7 separate regions of the Homo sapiens genome follow, and regions 1, 2, 4, 5, 6 and 7 are each linked to region 3. Evidence: promoter capture Hi-C in 16 types of primary human blood cells and fetal thymus (Javierre and others, 2016). All regions are on one chromosome and are shown on one strand. The core of a region is centred on a gene start or on the middle of the fragment in contact, and the rest is flanking DNA. Distances in the headings are between cores, read along the strand shown.

What was found. Contacts are between HindIII fragments. The CHiCAGO score rates a contact against its expected background, and 5 or more counts as called.
Region 1: a contact is called between a fragment that was not itself captured here and the fragment with the promoter of MYNN in region 3, in 13 of 17 cell types (total B cells, naive B cells, naive CD4 T cells and 10 more). The highest score is 12.1, in total B cells.
Region 2: a fragment that was not itself captured here is called in contact with the fragment with the promoter of MYNN in region 3 in 11 of 17 cell types (naive B cells, total B cells, total CD8 T cells and 8 more); the score reaches 10.0 in naive B cells.
Region 4: a contact is called between a fragment that was not itself captured here and the fragment with the promoter of MYNN in region 3, in 7 of 17 cell types (non-activated CD4 T cells, fetal thymus, activated CD4 T cells and 4 more). The highest score is 7.8, in non-activated CD4 T cells.
Region 5: a contact is called between a fragment that was not itself captured here and the fragment with the promoter of MYNN in region 3, in 12 of 17 cell types (fetal thymus, naive CD4 T cells, total B cells and 9 more). The highest score is 9.7, in fetal thymus.
Region 6: a contact is called between a fragment that was not itself captured here and the fragment with the promoter of MYNN in region 3, in 5 of 17 cell types (total B cells, non-activated CD4 T cells, neutrophils and 2 more). The highest score is 8.5, in total B cells.
Region 7: a fragment that was not itself captured here is called in contact with the fragment with the promoter of MYNN in region 3 in 1 of 17 cell types (non-activated CD4 T cells); the score reaches 5.6 in non-activated CD4 T cells.

The regions. Positions count from the first base shown.
Region 1 is chr3:170,149,549-170,152,248 of GRCh38, reverse strand. The region is part of intron 4 of PHC3 (polyhomeotic homolog 3); the gene reads left to right. It also overlaps the pseudogene RNU6-315P. Among named protein-coding and RNA genes, the nearest start is that of PHC3, 31 kb to the left of the region's middle. The HindIII fragment of the contact is 1,781 bases long and covers 533-2,313 here.
Region 2 is chr3:170,084,823-170,087,522 of GRCh38, reverse strand. GPR160 (G protein-coupled receptor 160) reads right to left here. Exons shown (of 4, transcript NM_014373.3): 4 at 2,131-2,700. The coding sequence ends at 2,534. Among named protein-coding and RNA genes, the nearest start is that of GPR160, 48 kb to the right of the region's middle. The HindIII fragment of the contact is 2,642 bases long and covers 17-2,658 here.
Region 3 is chr3:169,772,128-169,774,827 of GRCh38, reverse strand. MYNN (myoneurin) reads right to left here and starts at 1,432. Exons shown (of 8, transcript NM_018657.5): 1 at 1,366-1,432; 2 at 267-563. The coding sequence starts at 532. TRV-AAC1-1 (tRNA-Val (anticodon AAC) 1-1) reads right to left here and starts at 2,598; the gene lies at 2,526-2,598. RefSeq lists enhancers at 1,333-1,627, 1,266-1,769, 1,343-1,892. The HindIII fragment of the contact is 7,916 bases long and covers 1-2,700 here.
Region 4 is chr3:170,191,480-170,194,179 of GRCh38, reverse strand. No RefSeq gene overlaps it. Among named protein-coding and RNA genes, the nearest start is that of PHC3, 11 kb to the right of the region's middle. The HindIII fragment of the contact is 3,214 bases long and covers 1-2,700 here.
Region 5 is chr3:170,167,546-170,170,245 of GRCh38, reverse strand. All of the region lies in intron 4 of PHC3 (polyhomeotic homolog 3), which reads left to right. Among named protein-coding and RNA genes, the nearest start is that of PHC3, 13 kb to the left of the region's middle. The HindIII fragment of the contact is 5,194 bases long and covers 1-2,700 here.
Region 6 is chr3:170,132,285-170,134,984 of GRCh38, reverse strand. All of the region lies in intron 7 of PHC3 (polyhomeotic homolog 3), which reads left to right. Among named protein-coding and RNA genes, the nearest start is that of PHC3, 48 kb to the left of the region's middle. The HindIII fragment of the contact is 4,408 bases long and covers 1-2,700 here.
Region 7 is chr3:170,231,078-170,233,777 of GRCh38, reverse strand. All of the region lies in intron 1 of PRKCI (protein kinase C iota), which reads right to left. Among named protein-coding and RNA genes, the nearest start is that of PRKCI, 10 kb to the right of the region's middle. The HindIII fragment of the contact is 1,306 bases long and covers 598-1,903 here.

The DNA of each region.
Region 1 (2,700 bases), core at 174-2,673, 380 kb before region 3:
CAGTGAGCTGAGGTCGCACCACTGCACTCCAGCCTGGGCGACAGAGCGAGACTCTGTCTCAAAAAAACAAAACAAAACAAAACAAAAACAAACAAAATTACAGAATAATTCTGTATTGTATTAGTGGTATTTATGCATTGATTTATACATTTAACTATTATATTAAAATAAAAATATGTGATATATATACATTTAGAGAATTAGATAACCAACTGTCATGTGCCTACTATACAGTTTTTTAAACTTTTTTATTTTAAAATAATTATAAATTAAATTCCTATAAATCATAGGAAGTTGCAAAACTAGTACAGAGAGGTCCTCCTATATAAACTTCACTCAGCTTCCTCCAGTCACCATTCAGTTTAACAAGTGTCCTGGGTTAGTTCAGATGTTAATGTCTTGGGCTGGGTTATGGAACCGTACAGGGAGTGTGGATGTGGATTCTATACCCCTACCTGGTGTAAGCCTGGAGTTTTGATTCTCATAGGTACCTCCTTCCCTGCCTCCACTAGGAGCAGGGCAGATGCAAGCTTCTTTGCTGTTTCTCAGAACGTATGGGTGGAGCTTTTCCAGCTCCTTCTTACATATTGGGCAGCTCTTTTCAGGATTTTGGCTCAAAATAGGGATTTGACTTGTAGCCCTCCCCTGAAATAAGCACAAAGATGGATCTTCTGGCTCTATAGAACCAAGATACCCTTATAGACTGCCTTGGTGTCAGCTGAGGTGACATCTCTCTGGCTTTGAGTTTCTTCCTTTCTGGCACCAGGAATTTCCTTTCCCAGCTTTTCTCTCCCTTTTGGAGTTCTGCTGTATATTCTGATTTTTTCATGTTGATCTAGCATTTCAGTGATACCGTTTGGTCACATGGATGTATTAGTCCAGTCTGCCTTGTTGCTTGAATAAGAAGTCCAATAAAGTATTCTTTTTTCTAATAAAATATTTATTAATTGTATTCTGTGCTTTGTTCCACAAAATGATTTGAGGTTGGATTATATTATTCTCTGTTTAAAAATATTATTATTATTATTACTAGTATTTGAGACAGAGTCTCGCTCTGTTGCCCAGGCTGGAGTGTAGTGGCGTGATCTTGGGTCACTGCAACCTCCGCCTCCCGGGTTCAAGCGATTCTCCTGCCTCAGCCTTCTGAGTAGCTGGGATTACAGGCGCGTGCCATCACACCTGGCTAATTTTTGTATTTTTAGTAGAAATGGGATTTCACCATGTTGGTCAGGCTGGTCTCAAACTCCTGACCTTGCGATCCGCCCACCTCAGCCTCCCAAAGTGCTGGGATTATAGGCTGGAGCCACCTCACCCGGCCAAAAATATTATTTATTTTTAAAATGGGTAATATATACATGTGGTCTAAAATTAGAAAGATAAAAAAAAGAGTATGCTTTTTCTTTTCCCTATTACCCTAGCCACCCCACTCCAATGTCTCTTTATAGATACAACCAGTTACCAGTTTCTTACGCATCCTTCTAGAGGTTAACAATGCACTAGTTTATTGGGTTTTTTTCTTTTTTTCTTTTCTCTTTTTAGATGGAGTGTCGCTCTGTCGCCCAGGCTGGAGTGCAGTGGCGCAATCTCGGCTCACTGCAAGCTCCACCTCCCAGGTTCACGCCATTCTTCTGCCTCAGCCTCCCGAGTAGCTGGGACTACAGGCACCCACCACCACACCCGGCTAATTTTTTTAATTTTTTTTTTTTTTTTTTTTTTTAGTAGAGACAGGGTTTCACCATGTTAGCCAGGATGGTCTCGATCTCCTGACCTTGTGATCCGCCCGCCTCGGCCTCCCAAAGTGCTGGAATTACAGGCGTGAGCCACTGCGCCCGGCCAACAATGCTCTAGTTTATTCTTTAACAGAAGTTTTAAACTTTAGTGTTTATAATTTAATTTTGTAGCTGATATTCAGGATTTTTCCATCTGTTTGAGAAGTAGTATTTTCTTTTGCTTGAGAGCTTTTGACTACAGCTTTACACTGGTTATGTGTTACATGTATGTCTTTATATATGTGAATGCATTATCTGTGTTTTAATTTTTGTTCACAAACTCCTCAGAATGTGACAGAATAAACTGTTGATTAGGATGTTTTAAGTTATGTGGAATATTAAAATGAAACAGTAGCTCTTTTTTAATTTTTAACTGACACATAATAACTATACATATTTATGGGATACAGGGTGATATTTGAATACATGTATATCATGTATAGTGATCAAATCAGAGTAACTGGCATATCCATCATCTCAAATCATTGATCATTTCTTAGTGTTGAGAACATACAAAATCCCCTATTAAAACTAATGGAAAGCTTCATGAATTTGAATGTCATTTTTGGGCAGGAGCCATGCTAATCTTCTCTGTATTGTTCCAGTTTTAGTATATGTGCTGCGGAAGTGAGCACTGGCCCTAATTTTTAGGAGGTAGTGGAAATGATATTTTAAGATACTAGAAATCTTATTGAAACACGTTGTAGCTATCCTTAAAAACTGTGGCCGGGTGCAGTGGCTCATGCCTGTAATCCTAGCACTTTGGGAGGCCGAGGTGGGTGGATAACCTAAGGTCAGGAGTTCGAGACCAGCCTGACCAACATGGAGAAACCCCGTCTCTAATAAAAATATACAAAATTAGCCGGGCGTGGTGGCGTATGCCTGTAATCCCAGCTACTTGGGAGGCTTAGGCAGGAGAATCACTTGAACC
Region 2 (2,700 bases), core at 88-2,587, 310 kb before region 3:
AACAAAACAAAAAGCTTAGTGAGGTTTGAAATGGTTTTAAAAATCTCCTGATTTAAAATCTGCAAAGAGTGTAAGCAAGTCTTTACTGATTAATTTCAATATATTTAAACATATTTCAGTCCCATATTTGGCCAACAACTAGAAGGCAATATATTTAGAGGAAAAAGTAATAGAAGGAAAGAGGGGGCCGGGTTTAAGAAGAGTTCTAAACTGTTTAAACACACCCTGATGTTGTCTTGAACATAGGATTATTTGTCCTAAACTTTCGATATAGTTGGCTGTCTATATGCATTTGGTTTTTATAGAATGTGATTTTTATTCCTATTATTTATTATTTTCTCAAGTATATATATATTTTAACATTGTACCACCCATTATATTGGTTATTATTTCTCTTCCCTGCCATGTCTTCTGTTAACAGATCTGATCATAGAGAGGTGGACATATGATTGAAGTCAGGTTGAACAGTCATTCCCCGGGACTGTATATTTGAAGAAGTTAGGAGATGCTTTAAGTAAGTGTAATTAATTATGAAAGCCCTGAGCTGCTGGCAGCCAGAACACCCACTTTGTGGACACAAAATGGAAACCGACAACTCAGAGAGATTCTCCTAGTAGTTTACTAAGTAAGTTCTTGCCAATATCCAGCTTGTTCTTAGAATGGCTCAGGTTGAGTTTGTATTACCTGCTACTCAAAGAATTCTTGACTGACTCTCCAGGAGCATTTCCCAACTTGTCTTTATAGATGCTTAATTAATTAATTTTAGCTAATTAAAGAGACTTGTGTGCTCAAGTAAATGGTTTTCTTCTTCTTCATTATAGCACTATAAAGCCTTAAGGTGTTCATGGGCGTTGTACATTTTCAAGTGAAAAATAAATAATAATAATTAAGAAACAACATTCTTCACATTTGACTCTGAAACCATTCTTTTCTTTTTGAGAAGTCAGTGGCACCAATGAAAGGCAATGTAATACAGTGGTAAAGAGCAAGAACTGTGGACCAGAATTCTGGGTTTGCATCCCAGCTTCCCCAATGTCTGTCTAGTTGTATCATAGTGAGTTTCTTACTTTCAATGTTTAAATTTCCTCATCTGTAAGAAGGGGATAATAGTTCCTGTCAGAGTTGCTATAAGGATTAAATCAGTTGCTGCATGTAAAACAAACACTTAAGACGGTACCTGGCACACAGGACACATTTCTTAAATCTTTTTGCCATTATTAGTGTTCCATAGCGCTTGTTTTAGGACATTTTTTCAAATAACAGAAAGTAATCCATTTGTGGATCATCAACTCAATTTAGTGGATAAAAACCAGCATTTAAAAAATGACACTAAAAAACATATTTGCATGATATGTAAGGGTAAGTATTGTTATACTTGTATGTACATGTACATGTTATACATGTTATGTAAGGGTAAGTATGTTACTTGTATGTACACATAAACGTACATACAAGTCTATAGGTCATGATGTTAAAAAATATATCTTACTATAAATATCAAAAAAAATCAAAAGCCACCAATTTAGGAAAAGCTAGGTTTAGATTTATGCAATATAGTATTTTTAAATGGTGATAAAAAATATCTATGTAGCTTAATTCCTAAAGTAATGTAAGATGATGATCCTGCCACTCATATTGTTTTACTCCAGTGAAGCAACTCTGCCTATCCACCGGGGGAGATTTGGCAATGTCTGGAGACATTTTTTATTGTGTCTACTGGGCATGGAGGTGCCACCAATCAGTCAGTGGGCAGAGAGCAGGGATCCTGCTAAACTGCCCCACAACAAAAAATTAACCAACCCCAAATGTCAAGCGTGCCGAGGATGAGAAATTCTACTTTTACGTGTGATACATCATTGCTAACGTGATTATGATGTGATATGCAAGTATGTGATGACATACAAGTTTTATAATATGAAAACGAATCTGCTGAATCATCGAAAGGGACCTAGTCACTGCTCCCAGTTCCATAAGGTGAGCAACCAAAACCCTCTTCTTCCAGGAATATTTGCATTAAAAACAGAGATATACTTTTTAAAATTAATTAGCTACATTTAAAATGAGGTAATCTTCTTCTTCCTCTTACATTGAACTTTATGCCAAATCATTTTAAGAACAATTTTTACTTTCTTGCTTTCATTTGAACATTTAATAAAAATGTTTAGGTTGATATCTTAAAGTTGTCAGTGAAATCTCAGATTTACATAACAGTTTGCATCCAGTAGTTTTTTTGAGTAACACAAACATCAGTATAGCCAAATGTTAACTCTTATCACTTTTTGTGTTAATAACAAAGTAATATTTGTAATATAGTGTCCCTGAATAACTATAAAAACTTCTTGGAATTATTTTGTTTTTAAAATAAAACACTATTTAATAACTGGTATCATAGCCCTTCAAAAGACACATTCTGAAATGCTATCAGTCAGGGGGCAAAAGTTGTTTTAGTTCAGTTTATTTTTTAATATGTCCTGAGTTCTTTCTGTTCATAAAATTATGATCTTATGACAGCTGTAACTTTTAATTAATAATATTAACAAATCATTATTGATATAGGCTTTTCAATTTGCTCAAGATTAGGAATTGTAAGTGGAATGAAGCAGCACTTCCAGTTGACAAATGGATCCAAAGGTAATCCAATGTCTTTTAAATTAAGCTTGTGACAATTAAACCAATACACTGTAGCAATGAGAAAACTAT
Region 3 (2,700 bases), core at 183-2,682:
TGTTCAAGTTTACATAAGTGAAATCACAGGCTTTGTTTCAGTAAATAAACGTGTCAGAAATCTTACTGTTTATTATCTGTGCTTATGAAAAATATTGCCTGCTCATCCTAAATCAGTGATACTGATTTCTTTATAAAAACAAACATTGTGTGCATAAATAGGTGAAGAATTTGAGTTCAGAGAATGAATGGAAAAAATACAAATCTACTTTTGCTGTGAAGACTACTGACTAGCTTTTATAACTGAAAATAAAATGTGTACTTTACCTGTCAAGATTTAAAGTTCCTGTGTATATAAACTCCAACAGTTTCTGAAATCCATCAGCCTTCACCTGACTCTGATCAAGAAAGACATTGTTCTCAGAAGTGCTTCTGTAGATCGCACCAAAATACTCACTAAAGGAGGCCAGCACATTCCTATGAGCTTTAAACTGGAATTCCCCAATCACTATGGTACAGTCACAGAGAAAACCTGCTTCCCGCTGTTTGTTCAGTCTCTCTAAAAGGTGCTCACAGTGGTGCGAATACTGCATTTTGATATCAGAATGGAATTTTACCCTTGATCTAAAAGACAAAAAGAAACAGTAAATCAGTAACCGTAAGTTCTCATCAACGTTCAGTGAGGGAAGGGACAGAGGACATAACTTAAACAATTTTAGCCCCCTTGAAAATCCTTATCAAACATACATGGTTAAGAATGAAGGGATGAGTGCCTTTCTATCTTTGGTTACCTTGATCAACTAACACAATCCTTTGGACACATCAATAAGTGACGGTGAATGGCAACACTTCTACCACCTGCAAAAAGCACAGCAAAACCTGACGCTTTCACATCTGTTGAACCCTCAGATTTTCAAGCTCAGTAGACATACTTATGTTACAAAAAAATTTTTTAAACCACTAAGACATGATCTCTTGGGACAGATAGGGGCAGAACAGTACGAGTTTTTAAAAACTGCTCTCAAGTCACCAAAACCTGTTAGTTTCCCCAGTGCAGTTTCTCCAAAACGAGAGGTGGCTGCCCAGAAAGCCGGGAATGCGCCCGGCCATGGCTTGCTGTCAAAGGTTCTATCACTCGCGCTAAGGAGGCCACACCTTCTCCCTTCCCACTCTCTACGCGAGGCGGCATCCGAGAGTGACAACCAAAGCCAGTCCCTCCTCGGCTTCTGCCGCCCTGCCCTCTGCCCAGCTCCCACTCCCGCGAATTTCCACAGCAGAGGTTGTGGCCCAGGCCACCCCGGGGCTGCCTAGCCCAAGCCTTCCACCTGCGCCCCGACCCGTGCTGGAACTCCAAGGAGCCTGCCCTCTGATGGCCCAGGCTCTAGAGAGACCGGGATGGCGGGCTGGGGGTGAAGTAGGAACTCACCGATAGCAACCCAAGGGGGGAACACAGTTTCTTCACTCTGTCTCCGCCATCTTGGGAGGACGTCACCGAGCCACGCTCCGCCCCTCCCTTCCTTCCACGGTGGCGTCACGTCCGGCTCTGTCTTCCCGTGGCAGTGCGGGAGGTTCTGGGGCCATGGGGGTCCGGCGCCGGCCAGGGCGGTACAGGATGTACCACAGAGACCCACTCCCCAGCATGCCAGGGGTCCCCCGAAGCAGCAGGCGTCATGGATACGAGAGCTGAGGGCTCGCTAGCTCGCAGCGCTCCGCCTGTCTTCCTCATCGCGAGCATTCTGGTGCCGGCAGTCAGCGTCTGGCGCTCTGCCGGGGCTCTGCGCCGAGGCCCGGCAGCACAGCACCGCGGGCCTCTCTCCTGAAGCCAGCTGCGCACTGCGTGCGGGGGCTTGTAGTTGCTTGTCTTCTCCCATCATCCTCCCCTTCCTCGGGGCCCCACCGGTGGAAACTGCTGCATGTGTACTCGGATCTCTGCCATAGGGGATTTTTTAGCTGAGACTTGGCACCCCTTTCCCGCTTACGTACCTGAAAACTCTTGGCACCCCCTGGTTTTTTTGTGCCCCAGCCAACTGTAGCTCAGCTTCCAAGATGCCCTTACCTGGTGACAGAAGTCTGGGATGCACGAAAGCGGAGCAGCTGGGCACAGTGGGCATGCGCAACATTAGAGGAAGGTGGGCTTTATACCGGAAAAGGTTTTCCTGCGTCTGGACCAGAAGATTTTTAATACGATTATTTACAGCCACTTCAGACGAAAAACCAAGTGATATAATACAAAAATGCTCAGGAGGCGACAGGACTAACCACTTTTACACTTTGATCTTTCCTTCTAGGCTGTACATTATTTTTTCAGTGTTAGCTGGTGAGTCAAATTCATTTTTTAAAACCCGGGACACATGTTCCACGTGGCAAGGCTTCCATAAAAACATTTGGTGAACGAATAAAGTAACAAAAACTTACAGTTCAGACTCTCAAATTGCTATCATGTCTTTTGAAGGACCGGCATACATTAAGCTAAGGCTTCCCTCAGAAAAAAAAACAAAACAAACAACAAAAGAAAACAAAGCGTGATCTCACGCTTTCTTCCAAGCGAAGGAAAAAAAAAAAAAAAAAAAAAGGGATTTTTTAGTGTGTTTCCGCCCGGTTTCGAACCGGGGACCTTTCGCGTGTTAGGCGAACGTGATAACCACTACACTACGGAAACCCCACTTTGGAGAGGGTTTTGTAAAGTCCTTGATATGTAAGTGTCAATTCGCAATTCTCAAGTGATTATTATCAAATTGAGAGGAATGAATATAATGTATTT
Region 4 (2,700 bases), core at 100-2,599, 420 kb before region 3:
ATTTTGTGGCCTATCATATGATCTGTCTTGGAAAATGTTCCACGTGCTGAAGAGAAGAATGTTTATCCTGCAGTTCTCTGGTAGAATGTTCTGTAAATATCCGTTAGGTCCATTTGTTCTAGAGTGTAGTTTTAAATCCATTTTTTTCTTTGCCGACTTTCTGTCTTGATGATCTGTCTAATGCTGCGAGTGGAGTGTTGAAGTGCCCCACTATCATTGTGTTGCTGTCTATCTCATTTCTTAGGTCCAGTAGTAAATGTTTTATGAATCTTAGAGCTCCAGTATTGGTACATATGAATTTAGGATTGTAATATCTTCTTGTTGGATTGATCCTTTTATCATTATATAATTATCTTCTTTGTCCTTTTTTTTTTTTTTTTTACTGTTGTTGCTATTTACTTATTTATTTATTGAGACAGGGTCTGGCTTTATTGCTCAGGCAGGAGTAGAGTGGGATGATCACAGCTCACTGCAGCCTGAACCTACGACACACAAGTGATTGTCCCACTTCAGCCTCCTCATTAGCTGGGATTGCAGGCACACACCACCACACCAGGCTAATTTTTAAATTTTTTCATAGAGACAGGGTCTTGCTGTGTTGCCTAGGCTGGTCTTGAACTCCTGGGTTCAAGGGATCCTCCTGCCTCAGCCTCCCAAAGGGCTGAGATTGCAGGTGTGAACTGCCACACCTGGCTGTTGTTGCTTTAAAGTCTATCTTATCTGATAGAAGAATAGCTACTCCTGCTTGCTTTGGGTTTCCATTTGCATGGAATATCTTTATCCACTCCTTTACCTTGAGTTTATCTGAATCTTTATGTGTTATATAAGTCCCTTGAAGACAACAGATATTTGGTTTGCAATTTTTAGACCCATTCTGCCAATCTGTATCTTTTAAGTGAAGCATTTAGGCTGTTTACATTCAACATTAATATTGAGATTTGAGGCTGGGTATGGTGGTGGCTCACACCTATAATGCTAGCACTTTGGGAAGCTGAGGTGGAAGAATTACTTGAGCCCAGGAATTCCAGAGCAGCCTGGGCAACATGGCGAAACCCCATCTCTACAAAAAATACACACACACACACACACACACACACACACACACACAAACTTAACTGGGTGTGATGGTGCACACCTATAGTCCCAGCTACTCAGGAGGCTGAGGTGGGAAGCCCACTTGAGCCCAGGAGGTGGAGGTTACAGTGAGCCAAGATTGTACCACTGCACTCCAGCCCAGGTGACAGAGCAAGACCCTGTCCCCTCCCTGCAAAAAACAAAAAAACCCAAAAAGGCCATGCCTGCAATCCCAGCACTTTGGGAGGCTGAGGCGGGCAGATCACGAGGTCAAGAGATGGAGACCATCCTGGCCAACATGGGGAAACCCCGTCTCCACTAAAAATACAAAAATTAGCTGAGCATGGTGGCAGGCACCTGTAATCCAAGCTACTCGGGAGGCTGAGGCAGAAAATTGCTTGAACCAGGGAGTCAGAGGTTGCGGTAAGCCGAGATTGTGCCAATGTACTCTAGCCTGGCGCCAGAGTGAGACTCCATCTCAAAAAAAAAAAGAGAGATGTGAGGTACTGTTCCAGTCATCATGTTATTTGTTACCTAGATACTTTGTTTTATTCACTGTGTTATTGTTTTATATGCCCCATGAGTTTTATGCCATCAAGAGGTTCTACTCTAGTGCATATCAGCCTTTTGTTTCAGGATTTAGAACAGCTTTTAGCATTTCTTGTTGGGCTGGTCTGGTAGTGACAAGTTCCCTAAGCATTTGTTTGTCTGAAAATGATTTTATTTCTCCTTTATTTATGAAACTTAGTTTTGCTACATACAAAATCGTTGGCTAGGTTGGGCGTGGTGGCTCATGCCTGTAATCCTAGCACTTTGGGAGGCCAAGATGGGAGATGACTTGAGCTCAGGAGTTCAAGAGCAGCCTGGGCAGCATGGTGAAGCCCCATCTGTACAAAAAATACAAAAATTAGCCATGTGTGGTGGGATGCACTGAAGTGGGAGGGTCACCTGAGCCCAGGGAGGTTGAGGTTGCAGTGAGCCATGATCGTGCCATTCCACTCCAGCCTGGGCAAGAGAGTGAGACCCTGCCTTAAAAAAAAATTCTTAATGGGCCGGGCTTGGTGGCCCATGCCTGTAATCCCAGCACTTTGGGAGGCCGAGGTGGGTGGATCACAAGGTCAGGAGATCGAGAACATCCTGGCTAATACGGTGAAACCCCGTCTCTACTAAAAATACAAATATTAGCTGGGTGTGGTGGCGGGTGCCTGTAGTCCCAGTTACTGGGGAGGCTGAGGCAGGAGAATGGCGTGAACCCAGGAGGTGGAGCTTGCAGTGAGCCGAGATGGTGCCACTGCACTCCAGCCTGGGTGACAAAGCAAGACTCCCTCTCAAAAAAAAATTCTTGCTGGGCGTGGTGGCTCACGCCTGTAATCCCAACACTTTGGGAGGCTGAGGTGGGTGGATCATGAGGTCAGGAGTTCGAGACCAGTCTGGTCAACATAGTGAAATCCCGCCTCTACTAAAAATACAAAATTAGCAGGGCATGGTGGTGCATGCCTGTAATCCCAGCTACTTTTGAGGCTGAGGCAAGATAATCACATGAACCCAGGAGGCAGAGGTTGCAGTGAGCCGAGATCGTGCCACTGTACTCCAGCCTGGGCGACAGAGCGAGACTCTGTCTAAAAT
Region 5 (2,700 bases), core at 2-2,501, 400 kb before region 3:
TAATACTTTGATACTTCATAAAATTGGCTCCAATACAATATAGTTTGTAGGTTGTTAAGGAATTGAAGGTTAAGGAATTGTGCTCTATTTCTTCAGCTAAGGGTATGGTCTTTGCTAACTACATGCTGTGGTCAGCATATAGCTGTGGTTTTTTTTGTTGTTTGGTTTTTTTTTCTGGCTGTTGATCTGACTTTTTTTTTTTGGCGTGGGAATGTCCTGGAGTGTGAACAAGATTAGTTTAAAAAGTTCCCTATGACTTGAAGATGTTAGATTAAATGAAAAACTTAAATAATGTAACCTAGCTCTTAAGCATTAATACTGGAGTTTTTGTCATTGACATCAGATGTCTTTAATACAATGGTAATTAAGGAAAGGAGTGGTAAATATTTTGTGGGCTACTGAAGGAAATTATATAGACAAATTCTTTATTCTGTGAAATACTGGAATAACAATAGGATGTATTTGTATAGATATGTTATTTTGAATTTTTTTCCTTCATGTTATTAAAAGGTATCTTTTTAAACTGTCTTTCATTATGGCTTTATGTATGTGACATTCACAGAAGTTAGAATTCTAGTGATTGTGCTTATATATATGACATTGTTAATGTTACTTGTCATAAACCAGCAGCATTATACCATGAAGTATGCCAAAAGCTGTAAATGGCTGGTGGGGGAAGATAAGTAAGTAGGAAGAACAGATTCCCAGTAAAATAAAGGAATAATACATTACATTTGCTTTATTTACTATCCGTTGTGAGCTTCTGCTCAAGTAATTTGACTAGCAGTAAAAATTACAATGCCCAAGGTAACTTAGTAAATTTAGGTCAATATCCAAAAACGGGGGGGAGCATGGTAACAGATCTCTTAAGTAGTGATGATAATGAGCCATCAGGTAACAGACTAGTAGTTTTCAGAGTTTTGATTATTTTGAGTTAGGTTTCCAGATAACAGTGAAGCCGTGGGAAAGGGTCCATTCTCCAGAAGAAAAAACAGCTGTCAGGTAACCAGCTAGGTAGTTGGGGCTTAGAGTAGGAGTGGGATCCCAATGGGGAAATGGAATATTATTTTAAAAATCAAGTCCAAAGTCCAGTCATACCACCTGGGGGAACTGTGTACCTACTGATTGATTATTCCTAATATGAAAACCCGAAATGCTCTAAAATCTGAAATTTTTGCACACCAACATGACATTCAAAGGAGGAGTGTTCATTGGAACATTTTGGATTTTGGATTTTTAGATTTGGCATGCTAAACCAGTTTGTATCTTTCCAAAATCTGAAAAAAAAAAAAAAATCCGAAACACTTCTGGTCGCAAGGATTTCATATAACAGATACTCCATCTATATGTGGTTTGGAGAGTAGACTTGTTAATTGAATGTATAGGTAACGAGTGGGTACCTGCATTCTTTTCTTTTCTCTAATTAGAATCATGACTAATTCTACACTATTGTCAGTAGTGGAGTGGTGATTTTTTTTTTTTTTTTTTTTTTGAGACGGAGTCTCGCTCTGTCTCCCAGGCTGGAGTGCAGTGGCGTGATCTCGGCTCACCGCAAGCTCCGCCTCCCGAGTTCACGCCATTCTCCTGCATCAGCCTCCTGAGTAGCTGGGACTACAGGCGCCCGCCACCGCACCCTGCTAATTTTTTAGAGATGGGATTTCACCGTCTTAGCCATGATGGTCTCAATCTCTTGACCTTGTGATCCACCTGCCTCGGCCTCCCAAAGTGCTGGGATTACAGGCGTGAGCCACCGTGCCCGGCCGTGGAGTGGTGATTTTATGATTGTTTGGCTCTAAAACTAATTCGGACTGAGCCTTTAGGTTTATGTCTTTAGTATTTCAACTTAAATGGAGCAAAGATCTAGTTAAATTTTAAAATGGAAGTTAAACCAACTAAAAATTCTACTTCTGCCAAAAAACGGCATAAGCAAAGTGAAAACAGCAAAATGGGAGAAAATATGTTTGCATAAATGGGTAATATTTCTTTTCCTTTTTTACTTTAATTTTTTTTTCAAAAGGGAAGACAGGGAGAATTTTAGCCTTCCTTTCCCTTTCCCTTTGACTTTGCCTTTCCATTCCCTTTCCTTTCCTTTGACAGAGTCTTCCTCTGAGGCTGGAGTGCAGTGGCACGATCATAACTCACTACCGCCTCAATCTCCCAGGCTCAAGTGATCCTCCTACCTCAGACTGCTGAGTAGCTGGGACTACAGGCGCACACCACTATGCCTGGCTCATTTTTAAAATTTTTATTAGAGTTGAGGTCTCGCTGTGTTCCCCAGGCAGACTGGTCTCGAACTCCTGAGCTCAAGTGATCCTCCAACCACAGGTCACAAAGTGCTGGGATTATGTGGTATAGGCATGAGCCACTACACCTGGCTGATAATATTTCTAACATACTGAAGACTCATATTAGTAAGATAAACAGTGAGAATTCACAGAAGTTCTCAGTTGGTAATTTTTAAAAGAAAGACTTTTTTTTTTTTTTTTGAGATGAAGCCTTGCTCTGTCGCCCAGGCTGGAGTGCAGTGGTGTGATCTTGGCTCATTGCAACCTCCACCTCTTGGGTTCAAGCGATTCTCCTGCCTCAGCCTCCCAGGCAGCTGGGACTACAGGCATACGCCACCATGCCCGGCTAATTTTTGTATTTTAAGCAGAGATGGGGTTTTGCCATGTTGGCCAGGCTGGTCTCGAACTCCTGACC
Region 6 (2,700 bases), core at 41-2,540, 360 kb before region 3:
ACTGCCAGCATTCTCTACATCACTGAATCTCAATACTGTGGCATTGTCTGATTACCCTAGTTAGAAATTTCTCCTCCCTCTGAACTTTTATGGTCCCTTCTGGTTCTCTTTCCTTTATAGTTACTTATATACTGATCTTAGCTTGTCTGCTAGATAGTAAGCTCCTTGAGGGTAAGATAATAATATTGGGCATTTATGTATGTGTGAGGCACTGTGTTAGTACTTTACATTAACTCTTTAATCCCTTTTTGGATTCATCTTTTCATCCTTGTATCTTGACAGCACTAAGTTGTATCTTATACGTACTTACGTATGTTAGGTAGGAGGTACATATTTGTTGGATTAATAGTTCATTTTTTTTTCCCACTTGGATTTTGGGAATTATTGCAGTCTTTCTTATTGGTACTAATTAGGTATCACTATACTTAGAATTGTTAAATCTGAATCTTATGTAAGTAGGCTTTGATATAATGTATAAATTAATAAATATATTCAAGCTGGGCGCGGTAGCTCACATCTATAATCCCAGCACTTTGGGAGGCTGAGGAGGGCAGATCACCTCAGGTCGGGAGTTCTAGACCAGCCTGACCAACATGGTGAAACCCCGTCTCTACTAAAAATACAAAAATTAGCCGTGCGTAGTGGCCGGCACCTGTAGTCCCAGCTACATGGGAGGCTGAGGCAGGAGAATTACTTGAACCGGGGAGGTGGAGGTTACAGTGAGCCGGAATCGCCCCATTGCACTCCAGCCTGGGTGACAGAGCAAGACTCCGTCTCAAAAATATATATATATATATTCGTAGTATAGTTAGACACGAATTCTTATTTTTTTTTTTTAAACCTCTGTGTGCTAGGCGCTGCTCTCTGTATGGCATAAAAGCTGGGTTTTTACACTACTGTACAGAGTATTCTCAGCCTCAAACCAGCGTCTGGCTAGTTTTGACAGTGTGGAGCAATGGTGACCCATGGTCCTTAGGATGACTGCTCAGGGACAATTTCTAGTGATTCCTGCAGTTTTGATAAATTATAATGAAAGGTAGATTGATTTCTTTCTAAAGAGAACGTTACTTTCAGAGAAAGCCGGGAACTCTTTCAGGGTTAGTTCAAGCAAGGAAATCTAGTTTTGGATTTTTCAGTCCCCCTTAACTCTCAATATCTGGTTCTGAATTGCAGCTTATTCTCCCCTCTTTCATTAATAGTGTGATAATATGCTTATAGTTTGCATTCCTCTGATGGTCAATATCTTGTGTAAGTATGGAGGAAACCAGTAAGCCAAAACCACCAGAGTCTCAGGTCAGTTTTAAGTCCAAATTCAGATCTTACATATACTCCAATTTTCCTTGATGTTGTTGATTATAAACAAACCACGCAGAAAATCCTGAACTACTTAAAAGTTTCTTAAGCCTTACACTGCAGTTATTCAAAGCCATTCATATCTTCTATTAAGGCTATAGCTATATTTTTCACCTTTTTAGTTTTTCTGCTTTTATTGGTAAGAAGTTAATCTTGGCCTGGCACGGTGGCTCACGCCTGTAATCCCAGCACTTTGGGAGGCTGAGGCGGGCAGATCATGAGGTCAAGAGATCGAGACCATCCTGGCCAACATGGTGAAACCCCGTCTCTACTAAAAATACAAAAATTAGCCAGGCATGGTGGCGCGCTCTTGTAATTCCAGCTACTCTGGAGGCTGAGGCAGGAGAATCGCTTGAACCTGGGAGGCGGAGGTTGCAGTGAGTCGAGATCACACCACTGCACTCCTGCCTGGCAAAAGAGCGAGACTCCATCTAAAAAAAAAAAAAAAAGTTAATCTGAAGCGAAGATATTTTGAGATATTCTCAATTGATTATTTGTCCTCAATTAGAAAAATGTTCCTTCAAGTCATTTTAAATGTAAAAAAATCTACTTGTATTCTAATGTAGTATAGTCTAATTATTATAGTATACATGGTTATTGTTTTCTTATATGTATTTTTAGGGTGCCAAAGTAACTTGGTTTTCTTTATCATTTCTTTTTGAAGGTGGAGTTTCCACTTGATACATAGTAAATTCTATTTTTAATATGTAAAATAAGGTCAAACTTTAAATGTTTGGAAACATGAACTGTATTAGAGCTGAAGTTTTTCTATCACAGTTTTTAGAGCTTTTATGAAACTAGCTTAATTGGAAAAAATATATACTGTTTTTTGTAGACATTAATTCATTGTGTAGTGAGAAGGTCCTGTATTAATCAATCTGCTCCAGCTGCCATAACAAAATACCATAGACTGTGGCTTAAAGAGCAGAAATTAATTTTCTCACAGTCCTGGAGGCTGGAAAGCCCAAGATCGAGGTCTGGCAGTGTTCAGTTTCTGGTGAAGGCTCACTTCCTGGCTTGCAGATGTCCTCACATGGCCTTGAGTGTGTGGTGGGTGGAGGGAGCAGAAGCTCTCTGATGTCTTTTCTTAAAAGGGCACAAACCATGTCATGTCAGGGCCCCACCCTATGACCTCATTTAACCTTTGTTACTTCCTTAGAGGCCCCATCTACAAATACACATTGGGAGTTAGGGCTTCAGCATACGAATTTTGTGCCACAAACATTCAGTCCATAACAGGGCCCTAGACTCAGTTAGGATCATAGGTTCTTTTAGACCTAATGCTGTCCTTAATAGCCAGATGATTTTGGGCAAGTCACTTAACTACTCACAGTTTCTTCATCTGTC
Region 7 (2,700 bases), core at 1-2,500, 460 kb before region 3:
CTGCACTCCAGCCTGGATGATAAAGTGAGATTCTGTTTAAAAAAAAAAAAGTTTAAGTATAGATACCCATCAGAGACTCAATGAAGGAGTTATGCTTTATCAACTACCACTCCTTAAGTTCCAGGAACTAAAACATTCAAGGGAGTTTTATATAAACACTTAGCTCTCAGTAATTGCGAAACCACTATGTTCATAACATTCCACAATCACCAGATCCTTGTTACAGTACCAAAGCTAAAAATGAACTGCAAAATAAAGATATTACATTCTAAAGGTATAAAACAAATTATGCACGTATGATGTTTTTTCCAGTTTAACTTCAGCACTAGCATAAATTATTTTACCACTGATCCTCAACAGAATATAATCTGCTTTATCACAAAGATTCCCAAAATGGCAAATTTAGATATGGTTTTAGCTGAATTTTTTTAAGCATTTTTTATTTTGCTATTGAGCTTCAGAAGACAAACTGCTTTCAATGTGCCTATATTCTAAAATATAGAATCTATTATAAAGTTTTTCCTTAGGACTAATTGCTTTTAAAAATAAACCCCCAAAAGAATCACATTCAGTCCTTCTGCTACCTCAGTGTAAGCTTTTCTTCTAAATTAGGCTATTCGAAAAAATACTTTTATTTGCAATAACCATTATAATAATTGGTTTAGGCAGGATTATCCATGAATGGTAAGACCATTGGGCAAAATGTTTTGGGGGACTAGAGTATTCATATAATCTCAAAGTATCACCCCCCAAATTATTAATTATAAAAAAGGTCATAAAGCAATTTCCACCTTTTAATAATGAAGAAGATAGTGAATTCAAAAATAACAATTGTGAAATATGAATGTAACAATAAAGTAAAAAAGCAATGTTATAAAGCCCTGTCAATGTAGTAAGGGGAAAAGAGAAATCTCTTTGAAGTTCAAGGTCCAGTTTTGGCTGGGCAAGGTGGCTCGTGCCTGTAATCCCACCTACTCAGGATGCTGAGGCGGGAGGATCACCTCAGGAGTTCAAGGCCAGCCTCAGTGACAGAACAAGACCCTGTCTCTAAAAAAAATTTTTTTGTAATTAGCCAAGCATAGCGTAGTCCCAGCTACTCACGAGAATCATTTGAGCCCAGGAGTTCAAGGCTGCAGTGAGCCATGATCGAGCCATTGGACTTCAGCTTGGGCGACAGAGCAAGACTCTGTCTCTAAAAAAAAAAACACACCCAGCTTTGTATTGTGGGTTAGTAAGTCTCAATGTTATCTGAAAAATGGAGATAATCATATCTGCCTCTGAGTATTATCATGAAGACTAAATAAGTGCAGCTTGAGCCCAGGAAGTTGAGGCTGCAGTGAGCTGTGACTATGTCATTGCACTCTAGCCTGGGTGATGGAGGAAGACACTGACTCAAAAAATGAAAAATAAATGAAAATAAATGAGTGCAGCCAGGCAAGGTGGCTCATGCCATAATCCCAGCACTTTGAAAGGCCAATGTGGGAGGATCGCTTCGGTACAGGAGTTCGAGGCCTGCCTGGGCAACACAGGGAGACCTTGTCTCTACAAAAAAATTAAAAATTAGCCAGACATAGTGGTGTGTGCCTACAGTCCCAACTACTTGGGAGGCTGAGGTAGGAGGACTGCGTGAGCCTGGGCAGTTAAGGCTGCAGTGAGCTGTGATTACACCACTGTACTCAGCCTGGGTGACAGAGTAGAAATGTGCCTCAAAAAAAAAAAAAGTGCAAAATACTTATCATGGTTCTTTTTCTTTTGTTCCACTTTTTTCAGTTGAGTTTTTTTTGAGACAGAGTCTCGCTCTGTCACCCAGGTTGAAGTGCAGTGGCACAATTACAGGCGTGAGCCACCACACTCGGCCTCAGTAACATTTCTGAATAACACTAACTTTAATTCTTTAAAAGCTTTTTTCTTTAATTGACAGAAATTTTTCTATTATATTTCACTAAGATAAGAGATTATTACTATAATTCAATACTGTCTAGAAAATTCTAGCCTATGGCTAAAAATAAATAAGGCTGGGCGCAGTGGCTCACACCTGTAATCCTAGCACTTTGGGAGGCCAAGGTGGGTGGATTACCTGAGGTCAGGCGTTCGAGACCAGTCTGGCCAACATGGCGAATCCCCATCTCTACTAAAACTACAAAAATTAGCCAGGTGTGGTGGTGCACGCCTGTAATCCTAGCTACTCAGGAGGCTGAGGCAGGAGAATCACTTGAACTTGGGACGCGGAGGTTGCAGTGAGCCGAGATCACGCCACTACACTCCAGCCTGGGCGACAGAGTGAGACTCTGTCTCAAAAAACATAAAATAAATAATAAATAAATAAATAAGATATAGAAAAGAAGAGGCAAAATTGCTACTTGCAGATGACATTATCTAGCTTAAAAATTCTAAGACAGTTAAATTATTAGTAAGGTGGAAAGTTTAATTTAAACATACAAAAAGAAAACAGTATGTAATAGGTCTACAAGAAGACCCCATTCACAAAAGCACATGATTATAAAATATATAGGAATAGGCCGGGCACGGTGGCTCAAGCCTGTAATCTCAACACTCCGGGAGGCCGAGGCAGATGGATCACCTGAGGTAAGGAGTTCCAGACCAGCCTGGCCAACATGGTGAAACCCCATTTTCACTAAAAATACAAAAATTAGCCAGGCATGGTAGCGCCTTGCCTGTAATCCCAGCTACTTGAGAGAC